Linked DNA regions of Homo sapiens: regions 1 and 3 are each linked to region 2. Evidence: promoter capture Hi-C in 16 types of primary human blood cells and fetal thymus (Javierre and others, 2016). All regions are on one chromosome and are shown on one strand. Each heading gives the region's core, a stretch centred on a gene start or on the middle of the fragment in contact. The rest is flanking DNA. Distances are from core to core; before and after follow the strand shown.

Evidence for each region. Contacts are between HindIII fragments. The CHiCAGO score rates a contact against its expected background, and 5 or more counts as called.
Region 1: a contact is called between a fragment that was not itself captured here and the fragment with the promoter of FLI1 in region 2, in 1 of 17 cell types (activated CD4 T cells). The highest score is 5.3, in activated CD4 T cells.
Region 3: a contact is called between a fragment that was not itself captured here and the fragment with the promoter of FLI1 in region 2, in 4 of 17 cell types (total CD8 T cells, activated CD4 T cells, naive B cells and 1 more). The highest score is 5.9, in total CD8 T cells.

Annotation. Positions count from the first base shown.
Region 1 is chr11:128,391,649-128,395,841 of GRCh38, reverse strand. No RefSeq gene overlaps it. Among named protein-coding and RNA genes, the nearest start is that of MIR6090, 130 kb to the left of the region's middle. The HindIII fragment of the contact is 737 bases long and covers 1,016-1,752 here.
Region 2 is chr11:128,692,810-128,697,072 of GRCh38, reverse strand. FLI1 (Fli-1 proto-oncogene, ETS transcription factor) reads right to left here and starts at 3,001. Exons shown (of 9, transcript NM_002017.5): 1 at 2,797-3,001. The coding sequence starts at 2,814. SENCR (smooth muscle and endothelial cell enriched migration/differentiation-associated lncRNA) reads left to right here and starts at 1,050. Exons shown (of 3, transcript NR_038908.1): 1 at 1,050-1,160; 2 at 3,682-4,263. RefSeq lists silencers at 1,970-2,099, 2,150-2,369, 2,410-2,459, 2,680-3,049, 3,733-3,872 and 1 more and a cis regulatory region at 2,781-3,513. The HindIII fragment of the contact is 9,137 bases long and covers 1-4,263 here.
Region 3 is chr11:128,433,234-128,437,389 of GRCh38, reverse strand. All of the region lies in intron 1 of LOC124902789 (a long non-coding RNA gene), which reads right to left. Among named protein-coding and RNA genes, the nearest start is that of MIR6090, 87 kb to the left of the region's middle. The HindIII fragment of the contact is 536 bases long and covers 2,087-2,622 here.

The DNA.
Region 1 (4,193 bases), core at 135-2,634, 300 kb after region 2:
CCCTCTCTGATTCCCTACTCCAGAATTGACCTCTCCCTCCTTTATACAAAAACAGTTAATTTCTTCTTTCCACATTTCTTGAGCACTTGTACGTTGTGCATTGAGCTAGGCTCCAAAACAATTGTAACGTGACTCCATTCCCTCTTAGCCTTCTCAATATAGTAAACGAGAAAGAAAAATATCCAGATAATTACAATGTTAAGTGTGTGAAGGGTGTGTTGGGAAAATCTGAGACATTCTTTGGGAGCTGATGGGAGGGACACATAACCTATGGGGAGGAGACATCATTGTTACCTTTTGGATAAACTGACACCTGAGCTGAGCCTAGAAGGATGAGTAAGAATTAACTGGGAAGAGAGGGCAGGGTAGCACACCAGTAGTGAAAGGAGAAACAGAGGCCACATCTTGAAGGCAAAGGATGATGCCTTTGTGAGGCTTCAAGTCATCAGGTGCTTGCAGAACATAGTGTGAAACGCAGCGTGAAACTGTAGTGGGGGGCAGAGTTCATCATGGTGTTAGTAAAAGCTGGAGAGGTAGACTAAGATCCTTTCCAAAATAATTATTTGTTTATATCCTTTATCCTCTCCTCTCCTTGAGAGAAGCAGTCTTGTTTTATTCAGCTCTGTACTTCAGTGACTAGCACAGTACAAATTTATGGAGGGCATTCACACACATTGAATGAGTGAATGGGCGGATGAGTGAGATGAAGATGGGATCACAAATTAACTGTGAACAGCCCACGAGGAAGAAACATGGATCTTCACAAAGCATTTGGGTGACTTTGCTAAAGGATGTTGATTTCATTCTTTTTACCCCTCATTTCATCCATTTTATTACCATATATTTCCTAAAGAGAAGGTCTGGCCAATATCAAAACAAAGCAGACTACTCTGTTTTTAATTACCTTTTTCAAGGCCGCACTGGCAAGGCAAAGGCTGCCTGGGTCTGACTTGAGCCACAATCAGAAACATATTGTATGCTTTCCTTGTAAGCGCTGAATGGAGTGCATGAAGCTTATATTGATAAGGGTTGAATTTTAGGTTTTATCTTTTAATAGGGGTGATAAGATTCGAATGCCTCAGCCCTCTGTGCTATCTGGGTGCTGATGGTGGGAACAGTCACCAAAGTGATGTGCTGGTCAGTGGTGGGGGCCCTGGGCTAACCTCAGAAAAACACAAATATGAGTGGGTGGAGTGGTTGCTTTCCATGAGAATCTTTCTCCCTCTCTTTCACAGCCTGGCCCACACGATTGGGCCCTTTGCCAGCAAGCAAAGCAATGGATTATTTTTTCCATTGGTCAGAGGATGTTTTCTTTCTTTTTTTTTTTCTTTTTGTGAATGGAGATAAAAAACTTTCATTTTAAAGGAGAACTTTAGGAATTTCATTTTAGTAAAATGAAAGACTACCCAGATTCCCAGGAAGCATTGGAGGAAGGAGCAGAGCCTGGGGCAGCAGGGGCCCTTGGAATCATGCAGATGTGAGTGTCAACCCCGTTTCTGCTGCAGGCCAGCTGTGTTCCTCTTAGAGTCCCTCTGGCCTTTGGAGCCTCCAACCTCTTGATAATATAGGGAAATTTTTAGGTAAATAAAATGAAATAAGTGTGAATAACATATTTAGTAGACACTCAACATGTGCTATTTTCCTTCCTTTGCTCTTGAACGGAAACAAAGGATGACACTGTCTTCCCATCAGTCTTCTGTATATTTGGGGGAAAAGTCAAGAATACAAACCTAAGAATCCCAAGGGAAAGCTTTGCATATACAATGTCTTATCCTGCTGGCTGATCTCATTCACTTCAACTCACCAAATATTTATTAAGTATATGCTTGTGCTTACAATTGCTTATGATTGTGGAGTTTACAGTTGGATAAGAGATGCTAGCTGAGCTTTGTCTTCAATAAACATATCTCTTTATTTACGACAATGACAGAACTTTGTATGCCGGGCAGGTAAATAGAACAGGGCAATATGTATGCGGGTGTGCGTGCGTGTGTGTGTGTGTGTGTGTGATCATGCACATAAATAGTTTTGTGAGGTGAGAGATCAAGGGCTGGCAGAATGAAGGGACTTTTTAATTATTTAGACTGAATTGGGAAGGGCTGTACAGTGAGCAAAAATGTCATCCAGACAACTGTTTTTCCATATGGGCTATACTTTGGCCAAGGACAGAAGCCTTTGGATTTCATAAATACTTGGTGCATTTCCCTCTTCATATTTCTTGATGTGCCCAAAACATTGGTGCCTCCATGCCTCTAGGCCAGCTCTTCCTTCTGGCTGTAATTCTCTTCACCAGCTATGGAAATTGAACTCATTCTTCCAACTCCAGCTCAAAGCTCAGCTTCTCTATTAAGCCTTCTTTCCTTTTGTCTATTACCTCATGTAAACACAAGATACATATCTTAGGAGTGAATGAAATCAGTCTTATAAGTGGTTTTGAAAGTTAATTTCTCTCAAAAATTTTCCATTCATCCCCAAATTGGCCTGGGATCTTTAATAACTCCCCAGTAGTCTATCAGTTCTCGTTACCATCTTCTCCCACATCACCTCTTACCAGAGTCAGAGAACAAAAGCTTCTACAGAAACATAAAACCCACTCTGCCCTTAGCTTATTTTTTTTGAAAGTCAACTCAACAGTCAGAAGGAAAAGCAGAACTCTGTATGTTTTGCAACACACCTGCCCCTCTCAACAAATTCATCGAGACCACACAGATTAATAGTGCAAATGTTGGAGAGACGCAGAAATTAAGGAAGGATGTGAAGAACATAAAATATTAAAATAATAGTGGGACACAAGCCATTTATCTGCTTCAAGAGGGTGTGGACAAGGGAAAATTCACTCACCTCGTAGCAGTATGATACCAAACCAAGAGACTGAAAACAGAAGAAATCCAATGCAATCATTTACCCAAATCATTAATCTTGCCAATTTTCTTCTTTGACATGTGGGAATCAATTTAAAGTGCTCTGATTCCATAGATAATATGAAACTGCCATCCCACTAGGGAAAACTCTATAAATATTCCTTTAGTTACTCCTCTCTAAAGTGGGAATGGTCTCTAAGATGTGAGTAACGATCATCTAATCAGAAGGGACTCATGACCTGGCCAGGCCTTAGGACCTTGGCTGATGAGTTTCCCAAAATATCCCAAAAATACTGATTTTCAGTTGTCCCATTGGACCCAATAAAAATATTAAATTCTCAATAAAAATATTGAGTCCAATGGGACAACTGAAATTCAATAGGAAGCCCTTCAGTCTTCTGGGATTTATAGAGTGTTCAGAAGACAAATTCTGGGGAAACCCACAGAGTGTGGCTGAAATTTCAGCTTGGTTTCTGGATAAGCTGAGTTCTACTGAAGCCACACCCACCTCTGCTCTGGTCCTCCTTTCTTTACCCTGTTTATCCCTGTGGGTTGTGGATAGGGGCCTGGGCAGGATGATCTCCTAATAGAATGCGTAGCCCATCCTCAGTTCAGCATTCACTTGCTTCAAATGCTTTCTGTGGGATTTCGGTTTCTATCAGGTCTTGTTTTTAGCCTTTTATCAAAAAAAGCTCTCTTGCCCCTTATGCAATTTTTCAGGTAGTGACAACTTTTCTTAAAAAAAAAAAAATTGGAGGCAGCTCTAAACAGCTTCCAGAGCAACACACAGCTGGTTGTTACCACTTTGCTGACTGAATTCATAGCACTTTCTTTGCCTTTTGCCCCCAAAATCAAATGGAAATTCATTGGCAAGGATATAAACATAAGTTTTTTCCATCTCTTTTTTATCAGGAAAAAACACTGGAAAAACAGATTGCATGCCTGGGCTGTTGGCCCTTGAAATTCCCTGCCTCGTCAGACCTGTTATCTCAGTAACAAGAACAGTTTAGACAGTAGGAATCTAATCAGCTTTCACTTCAATTAGCCCCAGGACAAGTAGGCTGGACTCTCTCTCCTCTTCAGGGACAAGAACTGGGCATTTTAAGAGATTCAGCTCTACCACAAATGGAAGAAGAGTTTCAGCCATATTCTGTCGGTCATTTCCAAGTAAAATATATTTTCTTTTTGAAGGGGCCAGAGGCTGCACAGGGACACACATTTGGAATTCCTTGTCCAAATGGCCTCTAGCCATTTCCAGGGTATTCTCGTGCCCCTTCCTAGTGTGTGTTCTCTGGAAGGCAGGTCCTGGGCACATCTTAATCTGAAGGATTG
Region 2 (4,263 bases), core at 1,752-4,251:
AAGAGTAGCGTGGCTCCAGCAAATATTGCTTCTCCCAATGTGACGGTCAGAGCCTTTCCAGGAGCCGTTCTTGGAAAAGAGAAGAGAATATAATATGGAGGGACTTATAAGGAGGGCAACAAGATTGGGATTTTGTAATCACATAGAGTTGTGCAAATTATGCACAAAATAAAGGGCTTCTGTGAAGAAATCCAGACTTCCCTGGCTTCCTGCACCAAATACCACCTAAGTGCCAAGACCCACAGGTATTTTGAAATATAGACATGACTTATATTTGAGGAAGAACTATGCAGGTGCATAAAATCACATCCTAGAATCACTCAAACCTGATTTTTCCAGGCAGTTCAAACTGGAAATGGACACCCTGGATTTGTGTACACAAATTAGATTCTCTCTAGAGTGTCGTCAACCTCGATCAGTGTAGGGCTGGATTTAGTGCACATACAGGCAAGTGTTCTTGTAAACACATATGAGCACATTTTAGGCACTGAGAAGATTGGTTAGATACTACTGTAGAGGTAACCTAGTTCCACTGTTTCATTTTTGTGATGACTATGAATCTCAAACAGGCTTAATGGACGGTTCATTCTCACCAAGAGAGCAGAAGAATGCTGGCCTCTCTCCTGGTCCACTGTCCTCTCCAAGCACAGTATTTGAACTATTGTGGGAACAGGATCTGGAAACCCCAAGATCCAGAGGTCACATGCGAACAGAAAACTGTGGCTTTCACACAACTTAAACACCAACACACACACTAAAGGCTCAATCTTGCAGAATGCTTGGAGACTGAAGGTAGCTCTGTGGGGACTCAGCCTAGCCAGGTAACTTAGGTGAATGACAGGTTGCTCACAGGGAGGGTTTGGAGGAGCTCATGGCTCCTACCACCCACAAAAAAAGGAAGGACTTTCACTCCCATCCTTGGCCTGAAGTGTCAGGTTCCTGCTCTAAGCCTGTTCTCGAGGCCTGCCATGCCAATCCCTGTGTGTATCTAAAGAGGTTAGCACATCCTGGGTACACAGACCACAGCTTCCTCCTTTTGCTCAGGGCCTGTGCGTAGAGTTTAAGCAGTGTGGAGATATTTCTTCACTTTTCCTTAGGGTGTCCACATCAAGACCCTGAGGCCATCTTACCACCCTTCTGGATCAGAAGAGGCCTTCAGAGTAAGTGGTAACTGTCCTGATTGGGGCGAGGGAGTTTTCTAGAGGGGAGCATCTCATTACTAAACCCAGAAATACAGAGACACTTGCATGAACACATCAACAGGAAGCAGAGAAACAGGCATAAAATGGCCCAATGACCCCCACTCTCGGGTCTTTGCAGGAATCCCCTCTCACCTACTTCTCACCTACTCACTTTGGGTTTGAGGAACCCAGGCTCTTATAGGCTCTTATAGCTCCCTTTAACCCATCACAGTCAGTTATCTCATCTCCAGATTTGCAAGTTCCTTCGGTTGGTGTCTTTTACCTAAGTCAGCATATTTCAAACTTTCATAAAAAAAACTTAGAAAATAAAAACCACGACCCCACCCAGAAGATAAAAATCTCTTGAATTCTCTGAGCCCAACATCTTAGCCTTCTCTTGCTGAGCCCTGAGCAGGGAGTCGATTCTTTCGGGTTCTGGGGAATGGCGGGCTCTGCCAGTCCCCACCTCGCCAGCCTAATAGTTTTTCCAGACAGACTCCCGCTTGGTGTTGCGCGGCAGCCTCGAAGCTAACCCCTGGTCCCATTCATTCCCCTAGGTCCTCTAAGGCCCGTCACGTTAGGGGGTGTCCCTCCTCTCTGCTCCTGGCCCTACTTGGCGAACCCTTTCAGAGACAGCAGTCAACTTTTCTGAAGTGAGACGCGAACCCAAACCCTCACCTTTCCGCCTGGGTTGCACTTTGCAACCTAGACCCAGGCTTGGCGGCGGCGGCTGGGGTGGGAATGGCCGGGCGGGCGCGGGGCGCGGGCTCACAGCCGGCCCCTGCAACGGAGGCGGCTCCGAAGGACGCAGGACCCTTTCGGAGGCGACAGCTCCAGGAGCCCTGGTCCTGGAGCCGGCGCACGCCTAGGCGCGAAGGGCGGGGGCTCGGGGCGCTAGGGATCTGTGCGGACGGGGGCTGGGGAAGGTTCCCCGCCGGAGAGGCGGCGAGGCCGGCCCAGGAGTCCCGCGGAGCCGGCGGCTCTCCAGCGCCTAGAGCCGGGCGACTGAGTGCCGAGAGGAAGGGAAAGCGCTGACATGTAAACAGGGGCTTCCATCTGGAGGAGCCCGCTCAGATAGATCCCCCGACACACTCACTTGCACCCCTACCCTCGTGCAACGAGGCCACTTACCCACCCCAGGGCCCACCAGGCAGGGACCCGAGCCCGGGCGACTGCAGCCCCCGCCCCCGCCGTGTTCCGCCTCTGCGGAGAGGAAGCCCAGTGCCTAGCGCTGGGGCCACGGGAGCCCCGGGTGTCGGTGGGAGTGGTGGACCCCGAGGTCTCTCGCCCTTGACTCCGTTCCGTACCCTGGGGTCCCCCGGTTTCCCGCCGTCCCCTCCTGCAGCCCCGGCGGGCAGCGAGGTGGGAGGGGGGCCGGGGCTCCACTTTGGGGGCTGGGATTTCGGGGGAGGGTCGCCCTCAATGCGGGCGCCTGGCCGGCTGGCCCGCGAGTAGGACTCGCCACCCGAGCGCCGGAGGAGCCGGCGCGAAGCCGGGGCGCGGAGGGAAGGGAGAGAGGCCACGTCTTCCGGGACGCGGGCCCCGCACCTACCCGCCCGCCGCTTCGCCTCCCCGGCCGGTCCCCGCCGCCCGCGTCCGTTGCCCCGCCGCTTACCTTAATAGTCCCGTCCATTTGGCCAAGTCTGCAGCCGAGCCCCCCAATATTCCACACATTGACCCGGTTACAGCCTGACCTCGCAGCCCCTTCGGATTAGCCCGGCGCGGCCTCCCTGGCGCCCTGGGCCCTCCCTGCGTGCCCCCTGCGAGCGCCCTGCCCTCACTCCCCTGTGCACGTTTGTTGTTGTAGCGGAGCGAAAGAGACAGTTAACCGGATGAAACTTTTTTTTCAGCTAATTTTGGGAAGTGACTTCACTTTGCGAATCGGGGAGGAAGTCCTATCTCTCTCTCTCTCTCTCTCTCTCTCTCTCTCTCTCTCTCTCTCTCTCTCTCGCCTCGAGCTCTCCTCTCTCTTCTCTCCCCTCTGCTCTCCCTCGTCTTCCCTCCCCCCCCACACCCCCTCTTCCTCCCCTGCTGGTCCTGCTTTTCGCATCACACACTATATAAATATACGCGGAGATGCCCAGACACATTCATGCGCTGCGCACACAGGATACTTGCTCCTGGGAGATAAGAGCTAGCCGGGAACAATGACGGGGTCCACGCCCAGCGTCCGCGCCCTGATTCCCGAAGTCTGAACCTCCCCCCATCACCTTCCCCCAAAATCCAAAGCCAAAGACCTTTGGCTTCTTTGCTTTTCCTGAGGCGGTTGGCCGAAGGTGGCCCTCCTGACTCATTCACTTTCCGTTTCTTCCCACAGATACGTTCATTAATGCTTTTTCCAGCCGGAGACAAACTTTTTGGGGGTGGGGTAGGGGGGGTATGGAGGGAGAGTTGGCTAGGGCTGCGGGTAACCCAGCGCCTACTGCCGGGGAAGACTCGGACGAAAACCGAGGCAAACCAACCATTAAAAAGTGCATCCAATAAGAATTTTTCCACTCAGGCCCTCCGCTGCCGAGACGCGGCAGACTCCCAGAGCGGCTCACCCACTCATCGAAGCGGATTCTGGGCGGTTTCGGGCTGACCCGCGCTGTCAGGGCGCGGACTCCATTCCGGGCGCATTGTTAGGAGAAGGGGCCCCTCGGGGCGGCGCGCCTCGACCCTGGGCTCCCGGTGCCCGCAGAGGGCGGAGATCCGCGGCGCCCTAGGCCACCTATCCGCATCTTCTCGAGCCAAACCCCCAGCGCTTACCCGGACCCGACGGCCCAAGCACTGACTCCCAGGCAAGAGTCGCCCTTCCTGGTCCCCAGGGAACTGACACTACCGCGGGACGTTCCCTCTAGGACAGTCAGCAGGTCCCAGGAGCGCAGCACGCAACAGCGCAGAGCAGACCCAGACTTTTCCCGGGGTGAGACCCGGAGGCCCGCGCTCTGGACCGTCCTCCCTACCCAGCCTGGAGGCCGGCGTTCCCCGGCCCAACCCGGAGACCTCCCCGCCTCCCTCCTGGGCCGCCGCGCGCCCCAGTTGGAGCAGCCTCGAGGGGCTGGGCCCTTTCGGCCGGACTCCCTTCTCCCGGACATCCAAA
Region 3 (4,156 bases), core at 1,105-3,604, 260 kb after region 2:
AGTTTCCACTGTTTTTCTTGTTCCACATGATAGGAAGCATGACCTTGCAGCAATTCCAGAATTTATGCATCATCGGTCCAGCTACATAACAAGAGGCCAAATCTCTCTCTTTCTCTGTTACAATTTAAAAATCCAGAGGACGGGGCTCAGTGCTTACTCCTGCCTATGTAGCTGTGGCTGTGGGGAAAGACACCCATCACTGGGGGCTTCTCTTGAGGGTGGGCAGACAGGGTCCAGAACAGAGTGCCTGGCAAGCAACTCTGTTTCCACTCTACTGGGTCAAAGTCCATGCACATAATACTTTTTTTTTCTTTTCTTTTCTTTTCTTTTTTCTTTTCTTTCTTTCTTTCTTTCTTTCTTTCTTTCTTTCTTTCTTTCTTTCTTCTTTCTTTCTCTTTCTTTCTTTCTTTCTTTCTTTCTTTCTTTCTTTCTTTCTTTCTTTCTTTCTTTCTTTCTTCTTTCTTTCTTCTTTTTTTTTTTTTTGAGACAGACTCTCCCTCTGTTGCCCAGGCTGGAGTGCAGTGGCATGATCTCGGCTCACTGCAACCTCCACCTCCTGGGTTCAAGTGATTCTCCTGCTTCAGCCTCTGGAGTAGCTGGGATTACAGGCGCCCACCACCACATCCAGTTAATTTTTTTTTTTGTATTTTTAGTAGAGACGGGGTTTCACCATCTTGGCCAAGCTGGTCTTGAACTCCTGACTTTATGATCCACTCACCTCGGCCTCCCAAAGTACTGGGATTACAGGCATGAGCCACACTTTTAATGTATATTCCCAGATTTCTCTCCAAAATGATTTATCTTTATATTTCTACTAATGGTATATGTGAGCAGCTGTTTCTAAATAAAAATAACATCTCTCCAGTCTGTTCTATAACATCTCTCCAGTCTGTTCTATAACATCTCTCCAGTCTGCTCTATTACATTCAAGTCTTTCAACTGTAATCATCAATGAAGGTAAATAATATATTAGAGAGGGAGAATCTAATGTTATGTCTTTTTCCTAAGGCAAAACATCTCTTCTACATCTTAAACTCCTGCCTAAACTCCTTTCTTAACATCTCCTTCCCTTTTGCCCCTACTTTTGGGCAGCCTCAAAGGAGCTAGGCTCATCCCTCAGCCCCAGCCACTCTCCCAAGAGGTTTACCAGCTCTCATAATTTCATTTAGCACTTTTGTAATAATGATCTTCAAAATCTAACTGCTCTTCTCTTATGTCATTAATAACACATTCTTTTAATATTTATGGTCAGAAACTGAGACATCGACTTCGACTTCTCCTTTTCCCTCCTTGGCTATATCCAATCTCTTACCAAGATTTTTTGGTCATATACATAGGTGTCTTTGTTTCTTTTTTTTTCTTTATTTTTATTTTTTTGAAATGGAGTCTTGCTCTGTCGCCCAGGCTGGAGTGCAGTGGTGCGATCTTGGCTCACTGCAAGCTCTGCCTCCCGGGTTCACAGCATTCTCCTGCCTCAGCCTCCCGAGTAGCTGGGACTACAGGTGCCCGCCACCACGCCCGGCTAAGTTTTTGTATTTTTAGTAGAGATGGGGTTTCACCGTGTTAGCCAGGATGGTCTCCATCTCCTGACCTCGTGATCTGCCCGCCTCGGTCTCCCAAAGTGCTGGGATTACAGGCGTGAGCCACCGTGCCCGGCCGGGTGTCTTTGTTTCTTTTTTGCCTGCCACCTCTCTCTGTAATTCAGTCTACAGGCAAGCAACAAATGTTAGATCCTCAGATCCCAAGTTTAGATTTTACATTTGAGTCATATTCGATAACTGACTCTTTTAGCCCCAATTCCAAATTCTCTGAGTGGGTCATGTACCTATTTCTAGATCAGTTAGGTATGGCCAAGGGTGAGGGTCACATAGCAGAAATATGAATGGCTGTTGGTCCCTATAGGTGGGATGTGTTGTTTCCAAAACAGAGGGTCTGAGAGGAAAACTCCATAGGAGGCCATTAGCTGAATCATTGAAACATCAGAGAAAGAAATTCAAATGTTATCAGTTACCAGAATTTGGGAAATATTCAGTATCTTTTTGATGAGCTTTCAGTTCAAATATAGATTTCCTGAGTAAATAAAGCTTAATTTTATGCTGGAAATTTTTATATAATTATTTGATGAAAAAATAATAAAAATGATAACAATATTTTTAAAAAATAACAAGATAATTTTTTTTGAAAGTGAAAATAATACAAATGGAAAAGGATACATCATTCTATCTTCCTGTCTTTGGTTTAGACAGAAAATCACACCACCAGCGACCAGCAGCCTTTGCAGACCCACATTTTCTTCACATGGACACGTAGCTTGTGACTCGTCTGCTGCAAAGGTTTATGGCCTTCACCTCCCTGTTGTTTCATGCTGCTGGAGGGACATTAGCACTCTGGGTGTTCCCAGTTGTGAAAGGATCTTAATATGAGTTGAATTAGGATCAGGAATGGTAAGCAGACAGGTCTAGAAGAGGCTTCCCCACAGTTTAAAATATTACTCTTACTACATTAACAACCAAAATTAAGCTCAAAGAAAACAATGAAACTCAAGGAGACAGTCACTCTTTTGACTTTTACATTTTCAGGCATCCCTATTAAGTATTCCAAGGTAAAGAAGTACATCAAGCTTTTCCTGCCTCATCTCTCATATTCTATACTTTTTTCATGCAGAATTTTTTCACCCAGGGTTTGCTGTACAATTTCATGCCTCTGGGCTTAAGCAACTATTGTTGCCTTTGTCTTTTCTGTGTAGCAAGAGTCGATTTCTTCTGTGTACTAAGGGTCATGTGGCAAGAGTCTACTGCTTCCCCAACATCTGGATCAAATACCTCTTCTTCTACGCAGGCTTTCGTCAAATCTTTCCTCCTCTTCCACTTCTACTGGTACAGCAGTTCCTTTCTATGTGAACCCATCACACTTTGACTCCTCACTCTTTAGTATTTAACAAATAGGTTGAACACGTACTTTGTGTCAAGTATAAGTAGTTGACTTGTATAGGATGAAAATATTAGATGAAAAAGCATTATTCTCGCCTACAAATAGCTTTTAGTTTCATCAAGAGACACAAAAATGAAAATACTATATAACATGTTGGCACTTTTCTTCTTTACTCCTGGTGTTTCCTTTAATGTGGAAGGAGCTCCATTAGTGTGACACTCCCAGCTTTTCTCTGCTCCTTGCTTGCTCCCCTCCCAGGAATACTATGTTTAATGGGTGGGTTTTGAAAGAAGAAATTAGTCCTGCCCGTGAGGGATTTATATTTGTTTTTGTTAGGCCATGCCATAATTCTCATACTGGTATAGGCCCCCGAGTGGGGAAAGGTGACCTGTTCATCTGAGCCTGCATTTGGGAGTGTAAGTTAGCCTAATCTGGAAATATCATTAGGAAGCTCCCTTGTCCAATTGCCCTTAGGTGTAAACTCATCGCTGTTACATCAGCTTCATCAGTAATAAGGGTCATATTTTGGTATCCTGTCTCATATGCTGTTTTTTGTTTTTATTTTTATTTCTTAATTTTTGCAGAGCTTGGGTAGAAAAGGAGAGTGCTATTAATATGTTCTGCTCCTTCCAACCCTCCCCATCATTCATGTAGACAGGTGCAGAGCACAAGGAACTTGAGAAAGGGGGACCCAAAGGAATCACAGACGTTGTCACAGACGAAGCAATGTGAAAATTCTTAGGGAAAAAGTCGGAGTGTTTGGTGGACAGGACAGAGACACTGTTCCTGTTATGGGAGACAACGTGTCCACAGCAGGAGCACAGTGGTTTCACGGAAGAATACATCCACTGGGTGGAGGCACTGAGGGTGTCCAGAGCTGGGACTGGATAGGAAAATAAGAATCGATTCACAAAGGGATCTGTCACATTAAGGAATTCCGTTACTTTTCAATAGCCAATGGGGGACCACAAAAGAATCTTAAATTGAGGAATGCTATGAGAAAATTTGGGCGTCAAAAATATGATGTGAACAGCAGTGAGAACCTGACTCAGCGGGGGTGAGAGAGAGCTGGGGGCTAGAGATGGGTTGTGCACCAGTCCATGTGGGAGCTGACAAGGGACCCGAGCAAGCAGTGACAACAGGAGAGGAGCAAAAGGAAGGGGCTCAGGAGATCTTGGAGAGGTAGAGGCTGGGATACAGTGACTAAATGTGGGAGATAGGGGAG